7 separate regions of the Homo sapiens genome follow, and regions 2, 3, 4, 5, 6 and 7 are each linked to region 1. The links are contacts of gene promoters, found by promoter capture Hi-C in blood cells and fetal thymus (Javierre and others, 2016). All regions are on one chromosome and are shown on one strand. The core of a region is centred on a gene start or on the middle of the fragment in contact, and the rest is flanking DNA. Distances in the headings are between cores, read along the strand shown.

Region 1 (3,438 bases), core at 4-2,503:
AACAACTATTAGTGATACAGCATTCATTCATATTCAGCAAATATTTTCTGAGCATGTCCTATGCAGCAAGCATTGCCCTAGGCTCTGTGCATACGGTGGTGAACACAAACGTTGTCCTTGACCTCATAGTCCTTCCCCACTATAGTTTAGTAGGGAAGACAGCTGTCAACCAAATAATCATACACTTAAATGTACCACCAAAAATGGGTAAGTGTTATGAAGGAAAAATACAGCAAGTTACAGGAGGCTACAAGAGTATAAACTGGGGCACCATCTCTATTCTGAGATTATCGAGAAAGGTTATCCTGAGAAGTGACATTTAAGCTGGGGCCTGCGGAGATTGATTGCACGATTGCCTTGTCAAGAGACAGAGGAAGAGTGGCCTAGATGGAAGTAGCGGGTATGTGTGAGGGCCTGGACGGGGTCATGAGATGAGTGAGGGCCTGTGCCACAAGGTCACAGGGTTTCGGGCAATGGGGAAGCTTCAGAGATGGAGCTGCCTGACAGAGAGGTGGAGTGCAGGCTAAATGACCTCAGGAGCTTTGTCCTTCTTCAATTCCAGGGGGAAAATCACAAACTAGTTGGAAGTACCAGAGGGCTACAGAAAACAACAAAAAGAGACTAGCTGGTCGGCTAGGCACAATTAAAACATCAAATTCTGCCCCAGCAGCAATTCCGGGAAATTCAAGTAATGCCCCCTGTGTGGCCCTCTAGAACTGTATCTGGTAAGAGTAAAGGGCAGTGTGTCCTCTATGCCTGCGCTACAGATGTGGACATTTTTTTTAATTGCCTGAAAATTTCATAAGCTGTAGCCAGTTAGAGGGCCTAGCAATGTGTTGTGATCATGTGTTTTCCTGAGTTATTTGAAACAAGAGGGTGTATGTACTACCCTCTTGGCAAAATTAAAGGATTTTGAGCTAGGATAAATGAGGTAGATCAGAGGATAATTGCAGGAAGTGGGGCAGTGGCTAGCCCTGCTTGAGGGCTTAGGCCCAGGCTGCAGAGGAGCTAAGTGGAAGAGCAATATTTGACGGTCTATTGCCGCTGTGCCTACTAATCGGCTAGGGGAGGAGAAGGAGGACAAGGGAGACCAGGGTTGGACGATGAGCATGAAAGAAGAGTGGGCGAGCCAGGGAGCGCTTGCCACATGGAGGGCGGGAGGCGGCTACACCGGGTCCCCACCGCCGAGAAAGGGGCACGAGGAGGCGGCGCGGGCCCCGCCCCCTCCCCTGGCGGGCGCGGGCGCGGGCTCGAGACGCTGCGCGGCGGCAGCGGCGGGCGCGAGCGGCAGCTGTCAGGCCACCGAGGTCCAAGCCGCACTTGCTGCCCCATTGAGGACGAGGAGGCAGCAGGAGCAGTGACGGTGACTCTAAGGAGCCGGATTCCCGGCACGCAGAGCTGACCTGCCTGGCACCCGCGGCCCTCTCCTGTTTCCTTCCCATTGTGTTGGGTAAGGTGCCTGTGCGTGGGCAGGAACAGGGGCTAGGGGCTGGAGGACCCGGAAGGCCGGGAGGTGGGGGGCCTGTGAGAAGAGGGAGAAAGGAAAGTCTAGTTGATCCCCAGGACCACTCGTAGCTTGAGAAAAGGGACTGAGCCGCTCCCGAGGTCGGAGTCGGGGGCAGGTGACAGTGCAGGGGGGCGTTGCTGAGTAATCCCGAGCTGCTGCCAGAGCCGAGCAGAGAGGCGCAGGGCTCCGTGGGGAGCGGGTGTGGCTCAGTGCGCATGCGCCACAGCCGACTAGCTCTAAGAGCTGGGGGTGAGGTGAGAGGACCTGGGTCGGAGGTAGTTGGGACTATGTGTGACATCTCACTTTCTAGGTCCGTAATGCTAACAGTGCCCCTGTCGTAGAGATGCCAGCATTCTTGTCTCCCAAGGAAGCTTTTTTTCCTTGTGTTCAGCTCGCTTGATGTCATCCAAACCTTATCTACCTATCTGTCCCTGGGCAGTCTACTGAGGAAGAAGTGTCCTGGGGACGATGCCAGATTGCTATCTAGTGTGCCTTTGGGCTTATAGCCCTAGAGCTGTCGTTGTGAGCAGTGAAAGGTTAGATGTGGGACTCCACATTGGACCCTTTGAGTTGCATATAGGATATAAATGTGGGCATGAATGTAGGAATAGCGTTTCAGTGGCATGACAGCTGTGGCATTTGGAGTCGGCATGGATGTAGCTGATAACTTGTTAGCTCTGCAAAATGAATCCAGTGCGTCAGAGGGTTTCCGCGCTACGAAGCACCCACCACCAGCACCAACGCCAAGTATTGGGTTGTATTGGAAACACACTCAAACATTCAATCATTTCTCATCCGTGTTGAATTTTACATAAATATAGCCGCGCCCAATTCTTCAGTGCAATATTTCCAATTATTGTGCCAGCATTCAACAGTGAGTTGAGTAGCCCTTACCAGTGTGTCGCCACAAGATGGGCTTTCCCCACAGGTCCAACCATGGCTCCTCCCCTGTACAGACTTCCAACAGTGCCACTCTCATCCAGTGCCTAGCCCTCCCCAGTTGCTCTTCCCCTATCGATCCCTGCAGTACACATCCCTTTCAAGACTTGCCTCCGAGCAATCTGCACTACTGATTTTGAGCATCATTCCACTCCATGGCAACTGAACTGATGCGAATTTGCTTTTCTGCCTCTCTTCTCTCCATCATCATACTAAAATGTACTATTTTCAAAGGTTCAACTTCTTTTTCTTCATTGTACTGCCTCCTCCCCCACCTCCACTCCCACCTCTAAGCATTCCCAACTAAATACAATAATTTGAATAAGGCTTTGTGGGTACTGCAGATTCAGAAGGTTTCAAGTGTGTTAAAGAACAAAGAGCTGGGGAGTATTGGTTATGGAAATTCCTAATTCACCTTACTCTCCAAGACTGAGACCCTGATGGGAAAAAAAAAAGTTAGTAAACTATCCTTAGAGCATGCTCATTAATGAGTTTGTGGGGGTAGGAAAGGGGAATTGCGTCTCTCGAATATTTTACTCAGTTAGAGTCAGATCTTTCTCTGAATGGGATCAAAATCAGAATAAGCGTTTTGGTCCAAATGCTCGCCCGACAGAGGACCCATAAGGGATGCATACGTCATTTGACTTTCCTATTTACGTATTTAGTGTTATCAAAGAATTCATTTGCCTGCTTAATGTTACCTTGTTTAAAGGTTTGGATTAAATCCGGCATATTCTGGGGGAGGAAAAAATGATTTCATTTGCTTTTACACTGTGCTAGTTCTTTTTAATTTAAGTATGTACTAAAGGACATGACATTCATTTTCAAACAATGATAAATGATTGTGGAGAGGCCAGCACCCACCGACAACATCAACTGGATATCATTATTCTGCTCTTGTTTTGGGTAGGAATGGGGAAATGTATATACTTATTTTTAAAATGTGAGAGTAGGGGGAGGAAAACTGGAGCATTTCCCTTGACTTTCAACAG
Region 2 (3,419 bases), core at 844-3,343, 360 kb after region 1:
GCTGAGGAGCACTGTCCTGAAATGTGGGAAGAAGAGACCCAAGTGTCTCTTTGCAGCAAGCCCATGGAAGGCATCCTGGGCTGGTCCCCCTATAGCTCTGGGTCTGTGACAAGAGGGGCAGCCTCAAAGATCTCTGAAATACTTTGGGGGACTTTTTCTCATTGTCTTGATGAATAGCATCTGGCTCCCTTCCATCCATGGTAACCTCTTTAGCAAATAGTTGCTTGGCCACACCCTTAGTATTCTCTCCTGAACACCCTTTTCATTCTACATGGCCAGGCTGTAAATTTTTCTAATTTTTTTTGCTCTGCTTCTCTTTTAATTACAAATCATACTTTAAGTCACTTATTTCTTCTCACATCTCACTGTATGTGGTTAAAAGTAGCTGTGTGGCAGCCTGAATACTTTGATGCTTAGAGATTTCTTCCACCAGATACCCTACTTCATCACTCTTAAGTTCTGCATTCCATAAAGCCCTAGAACATGGACAAAATTCAGCCAAGGTCTTTGCTACTTTATAACAGGATGGCCTTTACACCAGTTTCCTACATTGTTCCTCATTTCTTTTCTTTCTTTCTTTTTTTAATGCAGTTTGTTGCCCAGGCTGGAGTGCAATGGCGCGATCCTGGCTCACTGCAACCTCTGCCTCCTGGGTTCAAGCGATTCTCCTGCCTCAGCCTTCTAAGTAGCTGGGATTACAGGCACCTGCCACCATGCCTGGCTAATTGTTTTTTATTTTTAGTAGACACAGGGTTTCACCATGTTGGCCAGGCTGGTCTCGAACTCCTGACCTCAGGTGATCCAGCCGCCTCAGCCTCCCAAAGTGCTGGGATTACAGGCATCAGCCACTGTGCCCAGGCTGTTCATCATTTCTGTCTGAGACTTTATCAGAATGGCCTTTACTGTCCATATTTCTACCAACATTCTGGTCACCATCCCTTGAAGTACTTTAAGGCTTAAATACTATCTAAGAAGATTCAGACTTTTCCTACAGCTCTGCTCTTCTGAGTCCTCACCAGAATTGCCATTATAGCTCCATTTATGGCAGTCTAGGCTTTTTCTAGCCTGTTCATTCAAATTCTTCCAGTCTCTACCCATCACTACCTAGCTCCAAAGCTGCTTCCACATTTTCAGGTATTTGTTATAGCCACAGCCCATGTCTCGGTACCAATTTTCTGTTAGTCCATTTTCTGCTGTTATAACAGAATAGTACTGACTGGGTAATTTATAAATAAATAAAATTTATTTCTCACAGTTCTGGAGACTGGGAAGTCCAAAAGCATGGCTCCAGCATCTGGCAAGGGCCTTCATGCTACATCATAACTTGGCAGAAGGGCAAGTGAGCACATGAGACAGAAAGAGGAAGTAGGACTGAACTCATTCAGTAGTTTAGGAGCCCACTCTCATGATAACTAGCCCACTCCCACAATAACAGCATTAATCCACTCATAAGGGTGGATCCCTTATGGGCTAATCACTGCTTAAAGTCACCTCTTCTTAATACTGTTACAATGGCTGTTATATTTCAATTGGAGGGGACATTCAAAGTATAGCACCCAACAACCTCTTCTGTATATGATGCCCCACCAAGGGTTAGGGACTGGTCATTGTACAATCCCCATGCCTGTTCACTCAACAACCCCTTTGGTGATGATGATGAGGTTGATGATGGTGGAAGTGAAATCCTCTGCTTGGGGCCAAGAGACCTTGGTATGTGGATCATGTGAATTGACTGGCATTTAAGATGGCAGACAGGCTTATTCAGAATAATAGGTGCTTCCTCTGGGACAAAGATCTGGAGGGTAGGAAACTAATGTTGACAAAACTAATTATAAAGAAGATGTACTCTAAGTTGTATCTCCTTTAATCTTAACATTTATTCAAGTAACCTATTATTAAATGCATAGTTTAGATCAAGTTATAGGAAATTAAGAGAGGTTGTGTAAACCAGAGAAACTGCTTTGGTTATTGTCTCCTCAGGAGTGGAGTCTGGAATTTCACTAAAGCTTTTCATGTGTTCTGAAGCCTCCAGGAATCTGAATGCTCTAATCTCCCTGGACAATAACAATCAATGCTGCCCTGGTCATTGCTTAATTTATTTATATAATGATCTGTATATTAAATTATAATATTGAAAATTTTAAAACACTGTATATGACAAAATAAATCATTAAAGCTTGTCTCAGTAGGTTAGAGTAAATATGTACAAATTATATGGAGCTAATTCTCATGATATATAAAGCATTCCCAGTAGCCAATATGGAAAGAAGGTCTGATGATGTTATGGTAGGCACCCTCTAAAATTGTCCCCTATGATCCCCATTTTCCTTGTGTATTCACTCCCTGTATAATCTGTCCCATAGTGTGGGCTAGAGTTAGTGACTTGCTACTAAAAATTAAAATATGTGAGAAGGGATGGGATGTCACTTCTGAGATCAAGTGACAAAAAGCTGTGTTGTGCATTCTTATAGATGCGCTAAGGAGAGCCAGTTGCCATGATATGAGCTATCCATGTGACAATCGATGTCTCTGCCCAAGAACTATTGAGGCCCTGAGGCCTGCTAACAGCCATATAAATGAGCTTGGAATTGGATCCTCCCTCCGTTGAGCCTTGAGATGGCTGTAGTCCCTACCTAGACCTTGATTGCAGCCTTGTGAGAGACTCTGAGCCAGAACCTAAACTGTGCCATGATTCCTAACCCACAGAAATGATGTGTATTAATATGTTTGTTGCTTTAAGTAGCAAAATTTGGAGGTAATTGGTTATGCAAGATAGCTAATACAGATATAAACAGAGAATTCATGTAAACAGCAATATACATGCCCAAGAAACATTTAAAAACACATTCACTAATGAAATGCAAATAAAAACCTGGATAGATGCTGTTTTTCTGAAAAAAGGCAAGCTGCAGAGCCATATGGGTGATGAGAGCTTAAAAATCCCATAGAAGGCCAGGATGCCTGACCTAAGAGAGTCACGGGGACTCACCTTTCTTGAATGCTGGTGCATTTTTATTTCATGTATTTCCACAACATTATCAGGAGGTAGAGGTAATAACCTCTATGTGATTTTATAGCTAGAGAAGCAATAATGTTTGTAGGTTAAGTAGTCTGGCTGGGGAGTGTTGGGAGAAAGGCTTATGGGGTACCTGTATAAACTGGCCATAAAAATATGGGACAATAAGTTGTGGAAAGCCACAAGAGGCCTCTGAGGAGGAAAGTCTTCTTATCGCCATTATGTTCCCATGCTCTGAGCGAGACTTGCTCTCTTATCTATAAACACTGTGTTCAAGGAGAAAGACACTCCTTTGAAGCACTGGAATATGGCCAGATGTGCAGGCTCCTAGTTAAGCCCGCTCCCACTAGCTACTCTCCCATAAGTTAAAGATACGCTGTTTGAGCACAAAGGAGATTCATTT
Region 3 (3,451 bases), core at 350-2,849, 310 kb after region 1:
TAGTTTAGTAGCTTTCAACTTTATATGTGTGGTCAGAAATGATTTTGTTGCAATGTGTGGCTCAGGCTGGAGTGCAATGGTGCAATCATAGCTCACTGCAGCCTTGAACTCCCAGGCTCAAGCAATCCTCTCACCTCAGCCTCCTGAATAACTGACTACAGGTGTGTGCCCCCATGCTCAGCTAAACTTAAAAACATTTTTCAGAGACAGAGTTTTGCTATGTTGTTTAGACTTCTCTCACACTCCTAACCTCAAGCAATCCTCCTACCTCAGCCATCTGAGTAGCTGGGATTATAGCCACGAGCCACCATGCCTGGCGAGATTTACTTCTTTACCCACCAGTAAATCAACCTCAATAAATTCTTGGAATTTGGAGTGGTGAGAGGGTGAGCAAGCATATATGTATGTGAGTATGTATACATTTGTATGTCACTGAAGCTGTCAGGAATTTTTATTGTAAGGACTACTTGAGGTTAATTACTGTGCATCATGTCAATCCTATTTAGTTCCTAGTACATATTAGGAACAAGCTCGGGATAGTGGTGTTTGTTTTTTCTCAGCTTTCCTTGGCCAGAATGGTTACCATGGTGACTCAGTGACTGCGGTGTGATTTGGTGCAGACTGAGCATCCATTTAGGATTCTTGCCCGAATCTCTCACACCACATTGCCTGTCCATCAGATATAGTATTAGCTTTTCATCTTATGTGTAATTAATCACTTTTCAAGGGCTCAGAAGAAAGTTGCTTCACTTATCTGAGGTTAAGCTACAGATAACATAAAAAGACACTAAGTACCTTGAAATAAAAGGAAATGAGTTGTTGATATTCCTCTCCTGCCCCAATCTCTATTGGGAGGTTAGAAGAGAAATTCTTGGAATCATACAGCATGTGCTCTTTTGTGTCTTGCTTCTTTCAGTCAACATAATGTATGTGAAATTAATATTTATTGTGGTCTATATTGTAGATTGCTTATTCTCATTGGTGTAAAGTATTATATTATTTGGATATTTCACACTATATTTATCTGTGATGGAGATTTGTGTATTTTCCAGTTTTTGACATCTCATGAATAATGGTGTTATGAATGTTCATGTTCATTCTTTTGGATGAACATATATTTTCTTTTTTAAAAAAATCTTATTATCAATAATATTTGAACTATTTAATATCTGTCATCTTAAAATTATTATTCATAACACTTTTTACCTTGTAGCTATAGACAAATACATTCCCATTTTAGCAGGTTAATGAAATTATCTTTATAATACTATAGAAGCATTTATTTGAAGAATACCAGAAGGAACATCCTGAAAACCAAGAACTCAAAATGCCTTTTTATCCCAAAGACATGTTTTACAAATATATACCCATTCATCCATTTGTTTTCACAAATGAAGCTACAGAGAACTTTGAATATAATGATGTGCAGCAGGGGCTTATTCCTAACATATTTAAAATTTAGGTCAACCAAACTTCTCTGTGGAAACTGAGTTGAAATCCGAAATCTTACAATCCTAATTTCGAGCCACATTCATTTTAACTTAATTTTAACATGTTTTGCAAAATGTTCCAATATAAACTTAATAGTTCCTATACCACCAAACATGGATCCTCATGATTTTATTTTCTAGATTGGCTGATAGGCTGAATAATCTCCTGTAGGGTAAGAAGTGTCAACTGTATCAAGCACATGGAGGTGGACTGGCTACAGGAGAAAGGTTTTCCAAATCAAATTCCAAGTATTTCTTTCTCTTTTTATATTACCATTAGGAGAAATAACTAATGTAGATGACGGGTTGATGGGTGCAGCAAACCACCATGGCACGTGTATACCTATGTAACAAACCTGTACATTCTCCACATGTATCCCAGAACTTAAAAGTATAATAAAAAAATTTAACAAAATGGTGTTAGATTCAGAGGCTTGATTCAATTTAGATTTGTTTTGGTCAGAAGTACTTCATATGTGGTATTGTTTATTCCTATAGTGTTACACAGGGGGCTCATTGTGTCTAATTGTCTCTCCTCTTGTGATGTTAAGATTAATTACTATGTTCAAGTATTGTTAAGCTGATCCATCCATTATAAAATTTCCCATCCCTTTTTCACCTCGATTTTTCTGCAGCGTCTAAGGATTGTTGCTTAGTTCTATATTCATTAAAGGTCATAAAAGGATGATATTCTAATTCTATAATTTTCTCTGCTTTATTAGCTGGAATTATTCTATTAAATAAACTTTCATAAACCATTAGGTTACACTGAGGGATAGTATGTATAGAAAGGGTTGGATGAGTGCCTAATTCTTTTGCAATATTTCCACTTTTCAAAACAATGAGTTGTTTCCCTAGGGTTCTCCAAAGGCAAGCAATGAGTTGATATTGTTTGTTTTATTTTATTTTTCTTTTAGAGTGTCATCATGAGCTGTAGAAGTTTTTATATTATAATGTGTTTTAATCCATAGTAGTCATTATTTTATTTAATGTTCAAATTGCTTCATCTTTGTCCAGCGAGAGCCCCTTAAGCTTGGCTTCTGAGTCTTTTTGACGCACTCTCTGGCATGATAGTTTGGTCCAGATTCATCTAGTAGAATGGCTACACAGACCTAAACTCAGTCATTTCTCTAAGATAACCTAGTTCCTTTCAGTGTGATGTGTTTTAAGTGGATTCAATATGGGCACTAGAGTTGCTCATTGCTACTGGGTCTATCATGTTTCTTCACCTTTCTAGTGCATGGAGCCAGTGTATATATATTATATTTTTAAGGGAAAAGACATTATTGGCTTCTGTCCTGGGCTGTTTTTCCTTCTCTTTATAGGTAATGATTTTTTAAATCAATTTTCATTAAAACTTTCCAATTTTAAAAATATAAGCAAATAGAATGTTTCTATTAGTTTTCTCCTATTCCATATATATAAGGTGACATATTCTACACTGGTGGAGTCCAATAGAATTTCTACAAAGGTGAAAATATTCTATGTCTCAACTGTCCAACATAGTAGCCACTAGCTACCTGTGACTATTAAACACCTAAAATGTGGTGAGTGTGACTGAGGAAGTGAATTTAAAATTCCATTTAAATTTAGTTAACTTAAATAGCCATGAGTGGCCAGTGGGTATGGTATGGGACAACAGCAGCTCTACACATTTTTCTGCACTTTGCTTTATTCACTTAATGGTATATCCTGGAAATCACTACATAGCAGCAGAGAGAGGGAATCTTCCTTGCTTGTTATACCGGCATTGAAATCTAGGATGTAGATGCACCTTAGATTATTCAGTCAGTCCTTTATTGGTGGACATCTGTCTTATTTCCAGTCTTCTGCTGTTACAATTTGTTCTGCCAAGAATGACCTTGTGCTTCTGCCTTTTTATCTTTTTGAATTGTATCTTTGGGATACATTCTCCGAAGATTGTTGGTTCCAAGATAAAATAATTGTGCCCTATGAAATAG
Region 4 (3,697 bases), core at 270-2,769, 360 kb before region 1:
AAACATTTTTTGTAGAGACCTTATCTCTACAAAAAATTGAAAAATTAGCTGAGTGTGGTGACATGTGCCCGTGGTCCTAGCTACTTCGGAGGCTGAGGTGGGAGGACCGCTTGAGCCTGGGAGGTTAAAGCTGTTGTGGGTTATGATCACACCACTGCATACCAGCCTGAGTGACAGAGCGAGGCCCTGTCTCAAAAAAAAGAAAAAGTTTAATCTCCCTCTCACACCAATCACCTACAACAGTTAACTGTGGGCAGCAGTTTTTTAGCCACTAATTACTGTTCACTGATAAAATGATGATAATGATCACTACATAAACCAGCAAATCTCTAGAGCAGCACTGTCCAACAGAACTTTCTGTGATGATGGAAATGTTCTACATCTCATGCTTTTCAATACAGTAAATAGCCTGTAGCCACATGGTAGCTACTGGATACTTGAAGAATTGCTAAGGAGACTAAAGAACTACATTTTAAATTTTACTTAACTTTAATTCATTTAAATAGACATATGTGGCTAGTGACTACCATAATGGATAGTACATTATGCACTGCCCATTATGGTAGTCACTAGCCACATATGGAGCTCTAGAGTACCTAAGAGAAGAAACACACACACGCACATTTCACTTAGTATCTAACTCACATTTATTAAAAATTGAAGATTACAGAAAAGCATAAGATTGGCATCATTAAACAAGCTTAATTAACTTACCTTTGACTAATAAATGAAAATATTTAATAACACTAAAGGAATTTTGAGAATAAGTTCTATTCCAACCTTAGAAATTAAAAATAAAAGCAAAGCAGCTATTCTCCAAAGGAGAAAGCAACCACAGATCTCCCTCTAGTGGCAAAAGATAAAGTTGCTGCTGAAAAGCTGAATTGCTCCTCCATACATAGAACTGCTCAGACATTTCTTCTATAAAATTCTAACTTAAGATTCTAAATCAATATATAAGGAAAATAGATCTATTTTTTGTCAAAAAAAATTAGACCTACTGCCCAGTAATAGCATGGATTAAAAAAATTAGACAATTTTCACTTACTATGAATGCTAATCTCTCTAGAAATCTGCTCTCTCTAGAAATCTGATCTGTCCAGAAAAAAAAATAAGTTTTGCCAATGACATTTGGGTATCTGGGGCTTTCACCAAATAAAAGTTTATAAAGCCATAACCAAACTGTGAGAAACAGAAAAGGGAGCAGTTCTCCTCTGTTGGTAAATATTCTGGGATAGAGCATGAAAGGAGCTGACTCAGAAGTATAAAGTAGTAAGCAGCAGTGAGTGGGCTGTGTAACAACTCAGGGTACATCAAAAGAAATAATATATTATAAGAGTTCTTAACCAAAACAACACTTTTCATTCTGGTATTCAGTTTCAAAAGACAGCTCTGCCACATTGCCAGTTTTAATTACAACCATACACACTCATTTAGATTTCACTACTGAACTACTTTCAAGTACAAGAAGGAACTCAAAATAGAAACGACTTATGATACAACTATTGTTATTCCCTCACAGCTTCAGGGAAAACAGGCTTTATATACACTGTAGTAAGTACAGAATGTACAGAAGACAGTTATATATACAAAAGTGCATTAATATAGTAATATATTTAGCAGTAATACAGGAAAAAAAAATCCTGGTTAACAATCTGATACATTACAGTATTTAAAACTACTTGAAGATTCTCCAAACCAGTCAACTTCCTACTTGCTTTGGTTATGATATTGCTGCTACATAACTAATCTTTGAAACTAAAAAGCAAAAACAAAAACCCACAATTTGAAATTTTTACCCATATGTGAATTGTTTTGCATATACTTGTTTACCATTAATAGCCTTTGACAATAGTCCTTAAATTCCCAACACAAAGGTTCAGAATAGATAATACTTGTTAAGTGAGAGTACTCAAATAGGAAATTAAATGGATCCACTACAGGAACAGACATTATCTGCTCCATTGTTAAAAGCCTCAGCTAGATAACCTAACCACAAATGTCAATTTCAGTCTCAGTTTAAATCCAATAGGTCAGCTACTGTTAAAAGAGCCAGCAGCTCCACAAAACTAGTCATGGCTTCAGGCCACTGTTCCTTAGAACAATTTAGAATATTAAGTGTTAACTTGTTATTTATACATATAGTCTACAACTACCTTTACATAGTCAAATGTATATGCATAATTAGAGCAAGTCTCCCCTTTTTCACCCCCATCCCTCACCACAAAAATGAACACAGATTTCCACAGGTTTTGTTGGACACAAAGATGTAACAAAGAAATGTGACAATTAAAAAAAGTACTACATACAGAATTTAGAGAAGATCAAACAAGCTTTTCTGAGTTCGGTATGAGTGTCAAATTAAAATTTAATTTGCCATTATATGCTCTAGGTTAAAACAGTAATTACCTTAATTTAAAAAATAACTAGAGGGAGAGCCAAAAAGAAATAATTTTAATGTTAAAAAAATAAGAAAATAAAATTTCAGTGAGTCAACTCAGATCTTCAGCAGTACCATTCAACTTCCTTACTCTTAATGGCCAGTTAGAAGAATTTTCAGAATTCCTTCTAAGGCTTCTGGAATAAGTAACTTATTTTCCAAAGAAATAAGACCTAAGCATTATAAGTAGTTATGTTCCGGATACTATGCTAACAAAGATGCCTAGCTTAAAATATCTCAGTTTTTATTCACTTAGCATAATTTTATTTTTAAGACAAAGTTTATCTTACTTTATCAGACTTAAAATGAATCCAAAGTTACCACAGTACATATGTATACAAATACTTATTTCCTAACTAACAGTCCTTTCAGAATTAAATTTACTTCTAGTTCAGACATGCTGAATGAGTCAGTGCCCTCAACATCAACACTATTATTTGAATGCAACTGGGGATTTTCCTATTAATTGTCCCAAACTATAAACGGACTGCGAGTACCCTTCAATTCCAAACAAATGTTTTTCCTTGAAGACAGAAGTGCTAAAAGTTCATTTGTTAAAGGAAAGAAGAGGAGTGTGTTCCAGCTATTACACAAATGAGTTCAAAGAATTCCTAGAGAATCAACTTGCTACATAATCTCTGTCCTTGAAGTGCTTTTGCCTATACCTTGAAAATTATCTTTCTAGATATTAAAAGTGATCTGGTTTGAAGAAGTATCCTGGCATATGATCTTTTTCAGAGGGAAAAAAATACATTAAGCCATACTTTAGATAACTTTCAAGGCTCTTCAATGATCTAGCTAGGCCGAAAATAAAGTTACACAAATGAAACTTAAAATTTGAAGGTTTTTGTTTTTATACTCTATTAGCATTGATTGGTTCGATTTAATGGCTTTGCTTACTGATATCCAATTCCATGGGCATTATGCAAAACAAATTACAACATTTGGATTGTTTTTGAGTTTTGAAAAGCCTGATATTGACAAAAACTAGAGTTCACCACCTTTAAGGCACATGAGGCTATACAGAGTAAGCCACAAACAAAAAGTCTCTGCTGGAGAACCCAGAAACAAACAAGACTTCTATATTGGTTGTGTACTAATATTTCTGGCTAAAATATGAAGACATTTGCTATATTTTATAATTTTTAAAGCTCATCAGAATCTGGATACCGCTATAGTTTCCTATAATTTTTCCTTTATGAGAGGATTTAGCACTTTTAAAAGCTAAATAAAATGAGAAGTTCACCCAATCTATAA
Region 5 (3,567 bases), core at 1,026-3,525, 280 kb after region 1:
TGCTGAAGCTTCTACTCCAGATTTGAAGGGCAGCAGTACTAAGGAGACCCCCAACACTTCCATCCCTGGTGGGATATGACACCTGGCTCAAGTGAGCTCATAGATCTGGACAGAAGCATGTTGTGGAATAGCTCTGTGAGGTTTATAAAATAGCCTACAAGCAGAGAAATTCCTTTGATCTCATCATTGGAGAAGAGGTTTAGCAGGTGGAATTTCCTTCCATCAGCAGCTATGTGCTTTGTGGTAGCTTCTGAGGCCCATGTTAAAGATGCCTTTCATTGTCACAAAGCAATGAATAGTTCATTTGGGGAAGCAACTGGATGTTTAACATGCATTTGCTATAGATTTACATATATTTTTCTGCCTATATAAATAATCATCAGTGATTCCTATGTATCTCTCAAATGGATATGGAAATATGCAGTCGTTAGGTCTTTCTAGCATTTTGAGATTGTAATATAAATTATATAAATTATCTCCTGGTGACCATGGTATTTTTCCATCCTATAATGATTTTTTAAGCCAGAAATTTTGCAAGTGTTAGTTAAAATGTCAGTTACTATACCTTAATAGTTTCAGAAATAAGAATTACCCTAGAATTCGCTCTATTATAATGATACTAAGCCATGTTCCCTAAAGTAAACAGTTACTCTTAAGTATCATCATCATTATTTTCTTAGAATGTAATATTTTTATTTTTGTACTTCAAAAAGAAATGAACATCCACTTTTCCAAAAATATTTAAACACTGCAAGTGATTATTATGGTTGTATGTAGTGCAGAACAATTTGATCAGACATAGTAATGATCTGGTAATATAACAAGAGTGTAGTAGTTGGAATCTTTTGGATGATTTAATTGCATCAAAAACTTATACAAATGTATTTCAAATACTTTCTTTGAGCCATGTTGACATACGATATACCGTACATGTTTAAAATATATAGTTTAATAAGTTTTAACATATGTATGCTCTCTCTGGTGAATCCAATATTATAGTCAAGATAATGAACATATTCATCACCTCAAAAAGCTTCCTTATGCACCTTTGTAATCCTCTCCATCTGTCTCTAGCTTCCCTCTCCATGCCAACCTGTCCCATTCCCGGACAATCACTGGTCTCCTCTTACCATAGATTAGTTTTTGTTTCTTGCCCTTTTAAGTAAATGGAATCATAGGATGCTTATTCTCCTTTGTCTGACCTAATTCATTTGTTAACCCCAAAAAAAGTGACTGAGGCAAGTGTCTCAATCACTAGAGGTTTATTGAGCCAAAGTTTGAGGACATGCCTGGGAAAACTGCAAGTCACAGGAGCATCTCTGACTTGTGCTTTACAAAGAGGGGTTTGGGAACTCAGTATTTAAGGGCAGAGAGCAAGCAAGAGGGAAAAAGGGAGAGAGGGTAGGCAGTGAGGCAAATGGTTACATTCTTGTGAGGCTCTAATTAGCGGTCAGTAAATCTGAGTTTTACATAAGATAAGATTTGAAAAGAGAGAGGAAAGAGTCAATTATGTATTCGTTTCAGGGTAGGTGGAAGAGTGATTGATCTTGTCTTTGTTCTGGAAAGATAAGCTTGTAACTGACACTGTCAGTGTAAGATTTAACAAAACTCAGTTTTAGGAGTTAAACTTAGGTTGCAGACTTAAGGTTACAATTGGCATGTGCTGGTTTTATAGGGGGATATGTATCCTGAAAGATTTAGGGGCTAGCAAGGAATTTCCTTGTGAGCAATATTTGAGGAAGGTCATCTGGGAAGGTATAATGCCTTTTACTGTTGTGGGAATCTGGATTATGTATTACGCTATGACACAGGGTTGTGAAATTACAGTTATCTGGGGACAAAGGTTGGTAATGTTGCACAATTCATTTCCCAGGCTTAACTTTTCCCTTGGCATGATGAATTTGGGAATCCTGAAATTTCATGTTATTTTACATATTTGACCTAATTATTTTTAGATTTATCCATATTGTTGTATATATGAATAGTTCCAAATTTGTTATGCTTTGGATGTTGCTGTTTGTGTCATATCTAAGAAATCTTCTCTGAAGCCAAGACTGCAACAATTTTCTCTTGTGTTTTCTTCTTGAAAATTTATAGTTCTAGCTTTTAAATTTAAATCTTCTTTTATGATCCACTTTGAGTTTTTTATGATGTGGTGTATAGATAAAAGCTTATTTTTGTTATCTACCTGTTCCAGCACAAGTTGTTGAAAGGATGATCTTTCTGCACTGAATTGTCTTTGCATTGTTGTCAAAAATCAGTTGTCCTTATATTTGTGGGTCTATTTCTGGACTCTATACTTTGTTCCTTTGATATACATTTCTTCCTTGAAGGCAATAGTGCACTGTTTTGGTTAATGTAAGTTTATAATGAAGCTTAAATTAGGTAGTGTTTTTCCTCCAACTTTGTTCTTTTACAATGTTGTTTTTCATAGTTTAGGGTCATTTGCATTTCCACATGATTTCTGGAATAAGTTTATTGATTTCTTCTTAAAAATATATGCTAACATTTCTATTGGAGTTGCATAGAATCTATACATCAGTTTGAGGAGAGTAGATATCTTAACAATACTGAGTGTTCTGACTCATGATGATGGCATTTCTCTCCATTTATTTAGGTCTTCTTTAACTTCTCTCCTCAATGTTTTGTGGTGTTCAATGTACAGGCCTTGCACACATGTGGACAGATTATCCTCAGGTATTTTACACTTTTTGATGCTATTATAAATGGCAGTATTTCTTTTTTTAGGCTAGAGTGCAGTGGTATGATCACAGCTCACTATAGCTTTGGGCTTCTGGGCTCAAGTGATCCACCCATCTCAGCCTACCGAGCAGGTGGGACCACAAGTGCATGCCACCATGCCTGGCTAATTAAAAAATTAAAAAAAATTTTTTTAATAGAGGTAGGGTCTTGCTTTGTTGTCCAGGTGGGTCCCAAACTCCTGGTCCCAAGCAATCCTCCCACCTTGGCCTCCCAAAGTGCCGGTATTATAGGCATGAGCCACCATGCCTGGCCTAATGGTAGTATTTTCAATTGCAATTTCAATGTATTATATTTTTACTGAATTGTCAGAAGCTGAGTGTTTAATACTAGCTGCTGGGGAACCTTTTTGGTTGAAAGCACAGGCTACTCTAGGATAGAAAAGATGCTTAATACTTAATGTCTGTATTAGTCAAGGTTCTCCAGAGAAATAGAACCAATAAGATATCTATATATCCATATATCTTTATATATGTATCTTTATATATATACATATAAAGATATTTATTTTAAGGAACTGGTGTATGTGATTTTGGACGCTTGGTGAGTCCAAAATTTGATGGGGGAGTCCAGCAGGCTTCAGACTCAGGAAAGAGTTGAAGTTAAAGTCCAAAGGCGGTGTACTGATAAACCAGGAAGAGCCAATATTACAGATGAAATCTGAAGAGTGAGCTGGCAGAATTCCCTCTTCTTTGGAGGATATCAGCTTTTTATTCTATTTAGGACTCCAGCTGACTGGATGAGGCCCACCCACACTGGGGAGGGCAATCTGCTTTACTTAGTCTGCCAATTTAAATGTAAATTTCA
Region 6 (3,652 bases), core at 369-2,868, 340 kb before region 1:
GTCTTAAACACTACATATGTTCCACACTGACATTTCACATTTTTAAAAAATTCATTCACTTTTTTGGCTTATTGAAATTTATTCTATTTTCCTAAAATTCTAGACCAATCCATGTAGGTCTTAAGGTATGAATGCTTAGGAAACTGGCTGTGTCCATGTAATGTATTTTCTACTGAACCTAGACCAGTGACATACCAACCTACATCACAAATGACTTTAATTTGAATACTGGGCCGGGCGCGGTGGCTCACACCTGTAATCCCAGCACTTTGGGAGGCCAACGTGGGTGGACCACCTGAGGTCTGGAGTTCAAGATCAGCCTGGCCAACATGGTGAAACCCTGTCTCTACTAAAAATATAAAAATTAGCCAGGCATAGTGGTACACGCCTATAGTCCCAGCTACTCAGAAGGCTGAGGCAGGAGAATCGCTCGAACCCAGGAGGCGGAGGTTGCCCTAAGCCAAGATTGTGCAACTGCACTCTAGCCTGGATGACAGAGCAGGACTCTGTCTTTAAAGAAAAAAAAAAATCTGAATATTGCAACCATTCAACCTCAGGGACTGTTAGTGCTGTGACTGTCTTTGTTAATGAAAATTGCAAATATAGCCCAGAATCCAGTAAATGAGTAGGCACAAAATTGTCATAATCATAAGGTCCTTATCAAGTGCATTATTTTTAAAATCTCCACATTTTTCTTATCAGGTACCAAGAAGGAAGCAAAATTAAGGTTAAGTCAAATATCTACCAATTAACAAGCTTCCTACTTCCAATGAAAATTTGTTTTACAATCACTAAACCCAAGGCAGAATTTCAGCACTCAACTATTTGAAATCTGATTTTTGGGTTGTTGCCTGAATTGACAAATGATGTGATGTGAAGGAAAAAAGTGACACATACAACTCCAAAATAAAAGAACTCCCTAAACTTTGCCCGATATATGATTTAGCTGTGTGCTTCTCCCTGAAAAGAAATGGCTGGAAGCCTATGGTCCTCTCAAGCACCATCTTGAGGAGGGGTAAGAAAGCAGAACATTGCAGAAGGATAATACATTTAAAAGGCAAGGTAGCCTAGGACAGAAACATCATGTGCTGTGAATATCGCTAATTTTGCTTCCCCTACTCTCTGCTGAAAAGGATACAGAGCATTAGAACCCCTGCCACCATGCCAAGCCTTGCGAAAAGTAGGGTAGGAGAGGGAAGTTAAAAAAAAAAAAAAAAAAAGCAAGCAGTAACTAGGAAAAATGCTTGACTTGGAAAAACTGGGGCTTGCAAAGAACCTCCTTCTCCCCTCCTCACTGCCCCATTGAAAAACAGTCCTGACCTCACCACAGTCTTTAAGGGAAAGAAAACACAGGAAAAAACGGGGAGGAGGAAGGAACAGAACAAGTTGTAAGAAACATATTATTCTCATAACTTCACTCCCCATCACCTCTACCCAGTTTTGGCAGTACTTACCCACAGCCTCTGCCCTCACTCCCTTGCCCTCATCATCACAGCAGGATCATTCTGAAATTATTTAACTTTCCTGGGTATGTGACTTGCTCCAAGGCTGCAAAACTTAAATGCCAAATATGTACAAAGGTATTCTTTTACATTATTTTTCAACATAAATAACCCTAAGCACACTTGATTTCATGAATATGTTACATTCACATTACAGTGACATCAGGGGTTAAATAGGCTTCTGTGAGTTGGTCTAGGAAACCATAAGTTCTATTTGTAACACTGGATCAATTAGTTCTGCTCCAAGTTTAATCATTGGCTTCAAAGGAATAGTCTTGGATTTGCTTGACTAGGTTTTATGACCTTGAACTCAATCTTTTCTTTCTGGGCCTGTTTCTTCATTTTTTGCAATGACGATTTAGAGTAGTCATAATAAATTTACTGCCACTTCCTTTTGAGATGTGTTATACTGATATTCTGATTATTTAACTATAACACCTTGTTTCCATAGACTATAACTTTCATTTATGTAAGAAACATCTTTTACACATTCCTTGTATCTGGTAGAAGCTCATTCAATCTACAGACTGATTTAAGGGAAGGGAGGGGAGAAATATGCTAAAGACATTAAAATATGGAAGAATTTGATCAAACTCACATCATAAACTTGGATCAGAAGTCAGAACTAGATTTCTTAATTTATCTCCAGTATTTTCCATAGCTGAACCCCTCTCCTAGAGCCTTAACCACACACCCCCCCAGCCCTTTGTATATGTATCTCAAATATCCACCTATGTTAAAACTTGAGGCTGTATCTAGAACGTCTTCAACCCACCCCCCAAGATTTGATCTAACACGTAAATGCTTGCATGAGAGAAGTCTCCAGAACACTACCTTCTACTGAAATCAGTTAGGAGGAGATACACCCTCTGAATAAATTTGTGTAAGTCAGTCCATCCTAAGCCTTACTCTGTCTCTTCAAAGGGGAAGGAAACCAAGGGATATGTCATATGAAGGAATCCTCCAGATTTAAGCTTACCAATTTTGGCAGAGCCTAAAGCGCTAAGGCAAACAGTTAATAAAGGAGGAGGAAAAAAAGAGAGAATCGACTAGTTTCCTAGCGCTCAACTAAAAAAAAAAATGGGGTAGGGGTGGTGGCGGCGGGGGGAACAGGACTGTGAGACAGATTAAAAATAGGGAAAATGAAGCTTCTAGCTTTAAATGTTCCACCTTTCAACGCCACTTTTCAAAAGATCTATGGATTGATCTTGAGCCATCCAAATTCCTCTACAGCGTACCGGAAATGGAAGGGGTTAAACTTTTGCAGATGGATGCAAACAGGGGCGTATCTAAAAATCAAGGGTGGGGGTTTGGGATTCGTAGGGTACAGATGGGGGGAGGGAAGGGAAGCAAGGGAGGGAGAAGGTAGGGAAGGGAGGAGTCGCTATAGCCAGAATATGAATGAGGAAAAGAGAGTAAAACGCCGGTCGAAAGGAAAATAGGAGGGCAGGGGTGAAAATAGGGAGGGGGGGCAGGGAAGGAGGCCGGGAATGAGCGCTGGTCGAAAGCAGGTGGGGGAGGGGGCGACTGGAAGCGCAGCCCGGGACGAAGGATCAGGAGCGGGGGGCGACCAGAAGTGGAAAATCCACCCCTGCCCTCAGGTGCAGTTCGTACCTGTTGGTGTGGAAGCGGTGGAGCGGGTCGGTGCGATGGCAGGAGGACAGCTGGCAGCCGAAGTCGCTGATGTCCAGGCAGCCCGGCTCCTCGCTCGGGCAGGTGCCCACCCCGCGAGGAGGTCCCAGGAGTGGGAAGGGCTCCTCGGGGGTTAGAAACTTCTCGTAGGAAGTGATGGCCGAGGCCTCGTCGGACATGGTTGGAGATGGCCTGGCTCGGGCTCCCTCTCTGGCCCTGGGCTGCTCCCGCGCCCGCCCCTGCCCCCACTCTAACCTGTCCGCAGTCGCCGACGCTCCGGGGTGTGCCCGTCGCAGCTCACTGGCAGGCTGGGCGTCGCGGCCCGCTGCTGCTTGCCGGGGTGCGGGGCCGCGCGAAGAGGCTGCTCGAGGCCACAGCGGCCCACCGGCCACCCAGTTAGCGCCCCGGTGGCCTCTGCAGCTTCCGCCGCCGCCAGACTCAGCCCGTCAGCGCAGCGCCGCCGCCCGGCCCGGCCAGGCCCGCCCCGCCCACTGCGCTCGCCGCTTGCGACTGCAGCA
Region 7 (3,247 bases), core at 603-3,102, 340 kb after region 1:
GACCAGTTTGGGTAACATGGTGAAATCCTGTCTCTACAAAAAATATAAAAATTAGTCAGGGGTGGCCGGGCGCGGTGGCTCACGCCTGTAATTCCAGCACTTTGGGAGGCCGAGGCGGGCAGATCACGAGGTCAGGAGATTGAGACCATCCTGGCGAACACGGTGAAACCCTGTCTCTACTAAAAATACACACACAAAAAATTAGCCGGGCGTGGTGGTAGGCGCCTGTAGTCCCAGCTACTCCGGAGGCTGAGGCAGGAGAATGGCGTGAACCCGGGGGACCGAGCTTGCAGTGAACCGAGATGGCGCCACTGCACTCCAGCCTGGGAGACAGTGAGACTCCGTCTCAAAAAAAAAAAAAAAAAATTCGTTAGGGGTGGTGGCTCACACCTGTAGTCCCAGCTACTTGGGAGGCTGTGGCTGGAGGATCGCTCAAGCCTGGGAGGCAGAGGTTGCAGTGAGCTGTGATTGCACCACTGCACTCCAGCCTGGGTGACGAGAAAAACCCCACAAAAGTCAGAAGTAGTTCTGTATCTATTTTTGCTTGTATAGGTCTATTGCTATATATCCATAGGTCTGAAAGCATAAAAATAAAAATGATTTTTTTTATTCCTCTCAAATATAGCTTTCTATTTAGCATAGTAAGAGGCTGGACTTTCTGTTTGGCCATCAGTATCCCTGAACACTGGATATACTTCTGTTCCACCCAGACTTATAGAAAGCTCTGTGGGGTGGGCTTGGGCCACAACCCCTTCCTCCCACTTTCCTGCTCCCGGATGTTCAAGCTGCAGTTTAGGCTTCTGTCACGAGGGGGCACTAACATATCACCATTATCAGACTGCAAAGCAATATATACAATGAGCAAAAAGGTGGGAATTGAACAGTGAGATCACATGGACACAGGAAGGGGAATATCACACTCTGGGGACTGTTGTGGGGTGGGGGGAGGGGGGAGGGATAGCATTGGGAGATATACCTAATGCTAGATGACGAGTTAGTGGGTGCAGCGCACCAGCATGGCACATGTATACATATGTAACTAACCTGCACATTGTGCACATGTACCCTAAAACTTTAATAAAAAAAAAATTAAAAAAAAAAAAAAGAAATACCATACCTCCCTTAAAACACAGCTTGTGAACCTATTTTCAAAATTTTCTGTCTGAAAAAACTGACAGATGCAAAAGAACACTAAATAAATATACTCTGGGGGCATCCATACTATGAAACACCAGGTAGCTCTAGCACACATTGGGAGCCACCGGCTGGCATAGGACAGCACAGGGGCAGGCGTAAGGTGACTAAGAAATGATGAGGGAGGTGGAACTGAGTCTGGGTGGCTGTGTCCACAGTGTCCCAGAGAGGGGATGACTGAAAGTGGGTGGAGAAGGTCTGGGAAGCCTGTACAGGAGTGGGGTAACGGAGGGCAAACTGCCTGCTCTCTGGGAGGGAGGGACCCCTCTACAGTGTGGACACCTCAACCTACCCTGAGGAAGGAAAAGATAAATCAGTGAATGCGATGAGATTCTTGGAGCACCATAATGCAACTGCTTTAAAATATATATTATATATATATATACAATATATAATATATATCATATATACACAATATATAATATATCACATACATACAATATAATATATTACATACAATATATAATACACCACATACATACAATATATATCACATACATACAATATGTAATATATCACATACATACATTATATATAACATATTATATATAACATATATTATATATGCAATATATAATATATACACGATATATATGTAATATATTACATATGATATATAATATATACAATATATAACATATATAATATATATAATATAATATATAATACACATTACATACACACAATATATTATATATACAATATATAATATATTATATATAATATATACTATATACACAATATATGATATATACACAATATATGATATATTATATATACAATATAATATATTGTATATATGATATATAATATATAGTATATAAATAAATAAAATTCATATAGTTTGTATAAATTCATAAATATATTTATATAAATAAATAAAATATATGAATTTTGCACACAGAATTATGATCATGGTAAACAAACCATTTTAAGTCCTTCGTTACTCTACAAAATATACTCCTTTTTATTAAAAAAAAAAAAATAAAGAGATCGATGCCATCTGGTGCCCAGAGACAGGATTGCATCTCTGTCAGCCAAGGGCCTCGGTAAGAGGGAAAGAGGGATGGAGTTTGGGAATTTGGCTCCCAGAAGGTATCAGCTGGAGTCTTCCGGAATTATTCAGCTCATGGTAGCTGTCTCTCTGTATCCACTATTTTCTGGGATATCTAAAACTGATATTGGTTCCATCCCCTGTCTGAATTAAAGGTAAAGCTGCACGTATGTTTATTTGGGTGATAGAGCAAGAGAAGATACACACACACACACACACACACACTCACACACATAGACATTATCAATTCCATTTTTATCTACTTTGTCTCAATACAAAATTGAATACAATGAATGTACTTTCGAATTAATGAAATACATTACAATTACTGTTGCCAATCTATTCAAAAGTATTTATTGAAATGCTTTTTTCCCTAAATACAAAATTTCAAACAATGTATAAAAGTATATTTATAAATTGAAATGAATCTGCATATCTCACTGGCCTGAAGCCTACCCTCTGACCCAAAAGGGTCTGTTGTCAACAGAATGGTGCATACTCTCCAGATGTGTCCCTGTAGGTGAGGTGCACGCAAACACACAATCTGTTCCAAAAGTGAATCACAGTACTAATTTTTTTTGCAACTTTTTTCTTCCACATAATATTCTCTTGAAGATTTATATTTGCATCTTATTAGTACTTCCAGTTTTGACATATTTTAACATGTTTATTGTTCATGTACATTTTAATGAGAATGTCTGTTGAAAACAGCTGCCAGTCATTTTGTTACAGAATGTGGTTCACAAATCATGGATACTAACCCAGTATCTGAGATGTAGTTTGCAAATGTTTTCTCCCTTAAGTTAAAAAATGTTTAGCCTTATTTTTACTGAGAAAGTGTTTTAAATGTCAATAATGTGACAAAAATATACAGGTCATAATTTAAAAAGAAAAAATGTTGAATAACACCATGAGGAGCAGGCGCTATCAGCCTGCAGGGAGATTAGAACATTCAGAGCCCTGGAGACATCAAGAGAAAATGATACAACTTTGGAGTAT

The links. The method cuts DNA at HindIII sites, captures the fragments that hold promoters and counts their contacts. A CHiCAGO score of 5 or more calls a contact.
Region 2: a fragment that was not itself captured here is called in contact with the fragment with the promoter of RAB9B in region 1 in 1 of 17 cell types (naive CD8 T cells); the score reaches 5.8 in naive CD8 T cells.
Region 3: the fragment with the promoter of RAB40A here is called in contact with the fragment with the promoter of RAB9B in region 1 in 17 of 17 cell types (naive CD4 T cells, total CD4 T cells, total B cells and 14 more); the score reaches 22.7 in naive CD4 T cells.
Region 4: a contact is called between a fragment that was not itself captured here and the fragment with the promoter of RAB9B in region 1, in 3 of 17 cell types (fetal thymus, naive B cells and total B cells). The highest score is 6.2, in fetal thymus.
Region 5: a contact is called between a fragment that was not itself captured here and the fragment with the promoter of RAB9B in region 1, in 15 of 17 cell types (activated CD4 T cells, total B cells, naive CD4 T cells and 12 more). The highest score is 21.5, in activated CD4 T cells.
Region 6: a fragment that was not itself captured here is called in contact with the fragment with the promoter of RAB9B in region 1 in 7 of 17 cell types (fetal thymus, naive B cells, total B cells and 4 more); the score reaches 11.7 in fetal thymus.
Region 7: a contact is called between a fragment that was not itself captured here and the fragment with the promoter of RAB9B in region 1, in 1 of 17 cell types (naive CD4 T cells). The highest score is 7.0, in naive CD4 T cells.

The regions. Positions count from the first base shown.
Region 1 is chrX:103,830,072-103,833,509 of GRCh38, reverse strand. RAB9B (RAB9B, member RAS oncogene family) reads left to right here and starts at 1,253. Exons shown (of 3, transcript NM_016370.4): 1 at 1,253-1,450. The HindIII fragment of the contact is 1,396 bases long and covers 485-1,880 here.
Region 2 is chrX:103,470,112-103,473,530 of GRCh38, reverse strand. The region is part of intron 4 of LL0XNC01-250H12.3 (a long non-coding RNA gene); the gene reads right to left. Among named protein-coding and RNA genes, the nearest start is that of RAB40A, 48 kb to the left of the region's middle. The HindIII fragment of the contact is 170 bases long and covers 2,009-2,178 here.
Region 3 is chrX:103,517,637-103,521,087 of GRCh38, reverse strand. It overlaps RAB40A (RAB40A, member RAS oncogene family), which reads left to right and starts at 1,599. Exons shown (of 3, transcript NM_080879.3): 1 at 1,599-1,718. LL0XNC01-250H12.3 (a long non-coding RNA gene) reads right to left here. Exons shown (of 6, transcript NR_188440.1): 6 at 3,145-3,440. The HindIII fragment of the contact is 4,467 bases long and covers 1-2,524 here.
Region 4 is chrX:104,192,829-104,196,525 of GRCh38, reverse strand. It overlaps FAM199X (family with sequence similarity 199, X-linked), which reads right to left. Exons shown (of 6, transcript NM_207318.4): 6 at 624-3,697. Among named protein-coding and RNA genes, the nearest start is that of FAM199X, 28 kb to the right of the region's middle. The HindIII fragment of the contact is 1,633 bases long and covers 703-2,335 here.
Region 5 is chrX:103,550,669-103,554,235 of GRCh38, reverse strand. The region is part of intron 1 of LINC02589 (long intergenic non-protein coding RNA 2589); the gene reads left to right. Among named protein-coding and RNA genes, the nearest start is that of LINC02589, 2.5 kb to the left of the region's middle. The HindIII fragment of the contact is 205 bases long and covers 2,173-2,377 here.
Region 6 is chrX:104,166,447-104,170,098 of GRCh38, reverse strand. FAM199X (family with sequence similarity 199, X-linked) reads right to left here and starts at 3,646. Exons shown (of 6, transcript NM_207318.4): 1 at 3,117-3,646. The coding sequence starts at 3,313. RefSeq lists an enhancer at 3,304-3,652 and a silencer at 3,369-3,652. The HindIII fragment of the contact is 1,720 bases long and covers 759-2,478 here.
Region 7 is chrX:103,487,497-103,490,743 of GRCh38, reverse strand. The region is part of intron 5 of LL0XNC01-250H12.3 (a long non-coding RNA gene); the gene reads right to left. Among named protein-coding and RNA genes, the nearest start is that of RAB40A, 30 kb to the left of the region's middle. The HindIII fragment of the contact is 5,359 bases long and covers 1-3,247 here.